Linked DNA regions of Homo sapiens: region 2 is linked to region 1. The links are contacts of gene promoters, found by promoter capture Hi-C in blood cells and fetal thymus (Javierre and others, 2016). All regions are on one chromosome and are shown on one strand. The core of a region is centred on a gene start or on the middle of the fragment in contact, and the rest is flanking DNA. Distances in the headings are between cores, read along the strand shown.

Region 1 (3,381 bases), core at 490-2,989:
AACTTGTATGACTCAGGGGATGGCCACATCTCTCTTAAGGTCCATCTGAAGGCACCCTCCTCTGGGACACGTTCATTTCTCAGAAGAAAGCGTATACTTCAAAAACTCTTACTGTTTGGAGTGCTCATTTGGTACTTCCTGATTACCGATTTGTATTGCTAGTGCTTCTTTCCCGCTTATTTGAAGTCCCCAATTAAATCTATAAACTAAGCCACACATGAGAATGAATTACTGGACAGGCAGCCAAAAAAAAACTGTGTTCTAGTCTTGTCTCTGGCACCTGTGTGAAACCTAAGTTTCTTTTCAACTTTAGTTCTACGGTACTCCCTGCCTGTGTCACAGTGGGTGCATAGTAAACACCTGATGTGATTAGTTGGGCTCAATATTTTGTCAGCAGAGGCTTGGGTGTTCCTAAGGGTAACCGCAACAAGGTTTTCCCTGGGTGCAGTTATGTTCTGGGCAGCCGTAAGTTTAGGGCCTTGCTGCCTCCTGTAGGGCAGATGTGCAAGTTGGGGCCTAATCGTCGCAACAGTGGAGAAAAGGGGAAGGGAAGATATCCCAGCCATTAAGGGACATCGTGACAGATGTTTCTTTTAGACTTCACAAAGACCCTTCGGGACATGGATTATTGATATCATTTTTACTGAAGACGGAACCAAAATTTAGGTTAAACACTTATACCTGGCATCCCCTACCCGGGCCCTAAGTGCTCTCCAAAGACCCCACCTCTGGGCTTATTTACATCGCGAACCCGCCCTCGTTCAGCAACACGAGGGCCCCGCCCGCTCATTTGCATAGGGCGCGCCCAGTCACGGGCCGGGTCCTCGGGCTTCTCCCGAACCCCTTTTCTCTCTCAGGCGCGTCCTCCGCGCTGCGCGGGGCCTCCCCGTGGGATGAGCACGTGTCCGCTGCCGGCCTCACGACGGACGGTGGACGAGGCGGCAGGCCCCTACAGGCCCCACCCACGACGCTGGCGAGGGATCGGGCGGTCACCGGGAATCGTCTTAATGCGCGGCAAGGCGCGGGCCTCTCCCTCTCCGCCCGTGAGCCCCGGTGGGAGCGCGCCGGCGCCCAACTCAAGCGAAACCGCGGGCGTCCCGCCCCGCCCGGCCGCGCCCCGCCTCGCCTCACGCTAGACTGGGGAGGCGGGACCAATCAGCGAGCGACGTCTCCCTTCCGATTCGAGGCCCCCGATGCGCGGCTCACACCCCGAGCTTCCCTCGTGCTGATTGGCTGCGGGCGCCGCCGGTCCGGCCGGGAGGCGGGGCGGGCCGTAGGCAAAGGGAGGTGGGGAGGCGGTGGCCGGCGACTCCCCGCGCCCCGCTCGCCCCCCGGCCCTTCCCGCGGTGCTCGGCCTCGTTCCTTTCCTCCTCCGCTCCCTCCGTCTTCCATACCCGCCCCGCGCGGCTTTCGGCCGGCGTGCCTCGCGCCCTAACGGGCGGCTGGAGGCGCCAATCAGCGGGCGGCAGGGTGCCAGCCCCGGGGCTGCGCCGGCGAATCGGCGGGGCCCGCGGCCCAGGGTGGCAGGCGGGTCTACCCGCGCGGCCGCGGCGGCGGAGAAGCAGCTCGCCAGCCAGCAGCCCGCCAGCCGCCGGGAGGTGGGTGCGTGGCGCCGCGGCGGCCGGCGGCCGAGGGCGGAGGGCGGAAGCGGAGGTGGGCTGGCGGGGGAGGGCGCGGCCGTGCGGGCGGCCGGTAGGGCTGCGGGCGCGCGCCTGAGGGGAGGAGGGGCAGCGCGGGCGCGCGCGTCCTCACCCCCTCCTTCCCCGCGGGCGGCGGCCAGGCTCCCTCCCCTCCCCTTCCCTCTCCTCCCCTCCCCTCCCCTCTCTTCCCCTACCCTCCCGCGCGCCCGGGCCGCCGGCCGGGCCCGGGCCTGGGGGCGGGGCGGGAAGACGGCGGCCGGGAGTGTTTTCAGTTCCGCCTCCAATCGCCCATTCCCCTCTTCCCCTCCCAGCCCCCTCCATCCCATCGGAAGAGGAAGGAACAAAAGGTCCCGGACCCCCCGGATCTGACGGGGCGGGACCTGGCGCCACCTTGCAGGTAAAGCCTGGGCGCCCGCGGGCCTCCAGCTAGGGAAGTGTTTGCGTGCGTCCGCGGCCGGGGCGATGGGCCGTGTCACATGGCCGCTGCGGGTGGGGGCTGGGGTGTGGTGAGTTCGGGGGCTGTGGGTGCGCCGGCCCGGGCGTGCGGGTTCGGGGCCGGAGAGCCGGGAAGGGACGGGGCTCGGTTGCACTGCGCTGCCGCCCAGGCTGACGGGGGCGGGGGCTGCCTGCGTCCCTTCCCCTCGCTGCTCTCACACTCCATAGTTTGTGGTTCTGATTTTTAAAGCCGAAGGGCCAGAGCTCTTGTTTCAGGAGTTGTGGGGAAGCCTTGTTAGGGACGCGTAATACTTTGCCTCCACTTTTTTTTTTTGGTCTCGTAACCTTTGTTAACAGTGGTAGTCTCGGGTTTTCCATGGCTTGTGTGTACTCACAAACACGCACACAGCTGATAACTCTGTGATCATCCTTCACTCACTTGTGAAAGTTGTTCTGCGGGTGGAGCCTATTAGTTTTTATCACACGCCTTTGGAAAGCCCTCGAAGTGATTTCTCGTATTTCAAACTTGGTTTTTAAAATTGCAACTTACTTTGTTCTCTTGGAGGGGGATATTGTCTTTGGGTCAGGTACTTTTGTCTTTTACTTATCCTTAAAATGTCCTTTTGATCCTAAACAGAAAAAGAATGCCTGGGTTGGTTTTGTTATTCCTTTCTCTTGACCCTTTAAAAGCAAAATACCACCAGTGTGTTGTCAACCATACCTTTAAAAAAGAAATTTCCAGGTAAAACGAATTTGCAAGCAGCATTTTCCATCAAAGTCATGTCTTGTTTGTTGCAATTTGGACTATCTTAAATTTGGGTTTGTGAAACTTTTAAAACGACATGTGTAAAATAATTGTTAATAAATAAATAACTTGGAATAATTACATCTTTTTAGAAATGGTCTTTGAAATGTGATTTAATTTCCAAAATTCTTTTTCTCTCTTCTGACTTCATATGAATTGAACCTGATAGTTTCGTATGAATGAATCGCTGATAGGATGTTTTCCTTGAGCCTAGTAATAAATTTGCTCTTATTATGCTGAAAATTTGCTATTCTACTTTAACACCCTTTAAAAAGTTTCCATCTTACAGAGAAGTTAGTCAAATAGTTAAATGGAGTTTCAACAGTTTTAATACATGAATTAGTGAAGCAGATGAAGCAGAGATGGGAGAAGTAATTTAAAATGGGCTTCATAAATGTACCATAGTTTGAGGGTATTTAAAAAATTTGCCTTCGGAAAACCCATACAAGATATTTAAAGAATTTCCTCTGCCAGAAGGTCATTTAGCAAACGTTTATATTA
Region 2 (3,381 bases), core at 494-2,993, 1.5 Mb before region 1:
GGGTGAGGCTTGCGGGGTGGTGGTGGGGGGAGCACAAGGGCTACTTTCCCCCAGTACAACATGGCATCTGATGCTTGATGGGAGAGCAGAACTGGTGAGACTTGAGGGAAGGGTCCAGGGCCTGTATTCAGTCAGGGTCACTGCTGGAAGAGGAGGAGGAAGAGGAGGAGGAGGAATGCTTGCCATGCTTGTGGTGCTTGTGCATCTTTTTATGAGCTTTCTTCATTTTCTTCTACATCTTCTTGTCCACTATCACTCCTGGTCCAACCAAGCCAGGGGCCAAGGGATTCACAGGAGGCATTCCAGGGGCAGGTGGTGGGTATGGAGGAAGGTAGGGACCCGAAGGTTGGACACCCTGGCTGTGGCACAGGATGAGGGCGTCCACCTGGGGGGAAAGCTGGATTGCCCTGGGGAGCTCCTGAGGGAGGAGGAAAGGGGCCTGGGGGAAAGGGTAGATTGACAGGTGGTGGGTGGGCAGGATTGGAACCTCCAGGGTACCCGATGTTGGGGGGATATGGATTTGGCCCTGGCTGCCTGGCATTGGGATTCCACATGTTTAGGTGTGTCCTTCAACCCCATCACCTTTCCACCACTGCCTGGGCTTGATGTGTTCTCTGTAGAAGATTTTTTAAAATACAGATAGTATAAAAATCCTTCCTGACCCCTCATTTGGATATTTTTTAATGGTGCCTTTTTTTTAATTGTTGACGTTCAAGATAGACTTTAAACAATCTGAAGGAAAATAAATCAATATCAATGACAGTCATGCACACTCAAGCAATCTGTTTCAAAGCCTAATCATTTGTCATCTATTCTCAGTGTTTCTATTATAATTTTTATTATAATAATAGTACAGGCTGAATCCCCAGCACCTATAGCAGTGCCTGGTTCAGAGTCGATACTTAAATATTTATGGAATGAACACTAAATGTTCTCTCAAAAAATGATAATTCAGAAATATCTGTATATTGCAAAAAGTAAAAGGTCTTCCTTACCCTCCTCTGCTCCATTCTGATGATTATGTGAAAGGAAAAGCCTCTATCCTTGGTGAATCTCTCATTTAGCTTTTCTTTTTTAAGAAGTTGTGTATTCTGGTGGTCTTTAACAGAAGAGGGCTATGTGTTATTGGGGGTTCATTGCCACCTGTAGGAGGCAAAATAACCTGTGATGAGTTGGCCCCATTGAAGTACCACACCTCTAGGAAGCCTTCCCTTCCTCCCCTTCTCTTGCCCTTGTTTCTGCAAGCTCTGTACAACACTTCTTATCCGGGTGACCTTGCCCTACAGGTAGCTGGCTACCTGCTGTGTCTTTCACAGGATGGTGAGCTCCTTGTAGACAGTGCTGTCTTTATCTTGCCACCTCCCACAGTGCCTTGGAGGGTACAGTTGCTAAACGTTTTGGAACTAAACAGAAAAAAACACAGTACAATAAGAAATTACCATAATGCTAAATCAACAAATTACTCGAATCTCTTCCCCTGACACTTTAGTAGCTCTTGAAAGGGCAATTTCAGTGATCTTGTCAAACAGCTAAGTCACATGGTGACCTAGAAGAGGGCTTGGAAGTTTGAGTCATTGCCGTTCAATACTCTTTCCTCTAGACATCCTGACCCCCATCCTCTGCAAAACCATGGGCAGTGCAGAGTAGGTCACAAGTATTGTGTTTTTATTTGTTTGTTTGTTTTTAGAGACGGGATCTTGCTGTGTTGCCCAGGCTGGTCTTGAACTCCTGGGCTCAAGTGATCCCCCCACCCTGGCCTCCCAAAGTCCTGGGATTATAGGTGTGAGCCAACATGCCTGGCCTGAGTTGTAAATCTTCCAGGCTCGTGCCACTGGCTTCTGGGAGACTATAAGATATGACCTAGTGTAAATGGAAATAATTTTTACCTATTTGGGTTCAAAGACACCAATAAATCTGTTCTTGGCCACCGAGGTCAGTTCTATTTCTTCAAATCTTGCCTAGAGTAGTGTTTGCACCTCATGTTATGGGTTGAATTGTGTCCCTCCAAAATTCATTTGTTCAAGTCCTAACCCCCAGTACCTCAGAATTTGATCTTTCAAAAGACAAAATTAGGATTGGGTGTGGTAGCTCATGCCTGTAATCCCAGCTACTCAGGAGGCTGAGGCATGAGAACTGATTGAACCTGGGAGGTGGAGGTTGCAGTAAGCCCAGATCGCACCACTGCACTCCAGCTTGGGCAACAGAGCGAGAAAAAAAAAACAAAACAAAATTACAACAAATTTAAATATCTTAACTGCTTTTATTTACAATTCTAGAATCAAGCAACACCTCATCCTATAAAATAAAACGGGTGTTCCCAAGAGCTGAGCAGAGGAGTTTGGTCCAATGGAGAGAAAAAGGCTAAGGAAAGCGGAAACAGAAAACAAAAAGTGGATTGGTTGTTTCAGAGTTACTTTCTTGTTAAGGCTGAAGCAGAGGGGATTTCCTTATCATGCCGGCTAAAACTGGCTTCTTTGGGGATTTGGCTATTATCCCTCACTCTCTTCATTTCTCAGATGGTCAGATAAACAAATTAGTTTCAATTTGGTGACATGGAACCTTAGCATGAATGACTCCATTTTGGTTGGGCCTAGTGCAGGAGCTCAGTCCAAGCCAATGGCCGCCTATAAATTTTATTTAACAGGCTTTATTTGGAAATAGGTACATTGTAGATAGAATTAGGTTATAATGAAGTCACCAGGGTGGGCCCTAACCCAATATGACTGGCGTCCTTATATAAAGAGGAAATTTCTATGTAAACACACACACAGAGGAACATGTGAAGATGAAGGTGGATATAAGGGTGTTCCTTCTACAAGCCAAGGAATGCCAAGAATTGTCAGTAGACCAGCAGAAAGTAGGGGAGAGCATGAAACAGTTTCTTCCTCGCAGCCCTCAGAAGGAACCAACTCTGACAATGCCTTGATTTTGGACTTTTGGCCTCCAGGCCTATGAGACAATAAATGTCCACTGTTTGTGGTACTTTGGTATGGCACCCTAGTAAACCAATATACCCAGGTATTACAGTCAGATATTACAGTCCATGTTAGCTGGAAACACAAGCTAACTCTGAGGAAGCCAAGTGTGAGTCTTCCAACACTGGCAGTGTTGGCAAAAGGAGCTCTGGGACAGCCTTTTCCAGTGAGTGACAGTGTGGGCTGTGCAGCTAGACTGCTGGTGTGTGAGCCTCCACTGGCTAGCTTTGCAATGTTGGGAATTGTATTTAACTTGTTGCGGCTGTACAATGGGGGACAATAAATAAGTACCTTGTCTTAGTCCTTTTGAGCTGCTATAACAAAATACCACAGACTGGGTAATTTACAAAGAGCAAAAATTGGACAGGCACAGTGGCTCATGCCTGTAATCCCAGCATTTTGGGGT

Evidence for each region. The method cuts DNA at HindIII sites, captures the fragments that hold promoters and counts their contacts. A CHiCAGO score of 5 or more calls a contact.
Region 2: a fragment that was not itself captured here is called in contact with the fragment with the promoter of SMAD2 in region 1 in 1 of 17 cell types (neutrophils); the score reaches 6.4 in neutrophils.

What each region holds. Positions count from the first base shown.
Region 1 is chr18:47,929,017-47,932,397 of GRCh38, reverse strand. It overlaps SMAD2 (SMAD family member 2), which reads left to right and starts at 1,739. Exons shown (of 11, transcript NM_005901.6): 1 at 1,739-2,037. LOC124904297 (a long non-coding RNA gene) reads left to right here. Exons shown (of 2, transcript XR_007066360.1): 2 at 1-210. RefSeq lists silencers at 821-1,750, 1,781-2,310. The HindIII fragment of the contact is 8,478 bases long and covers 1-3,381 here.
Region 2 is chr18:49,466,974-49,470,354 of GRCh38, reverse strand. It overlaps the pseudogene PRR13P4. Among named protein-coding and RNA genes, the nearest start is that of DYM, 8.0 kb to the right of the region's middle. The HindIII fragment of the contact is 6,859 bases long and covers 1-3,381 here.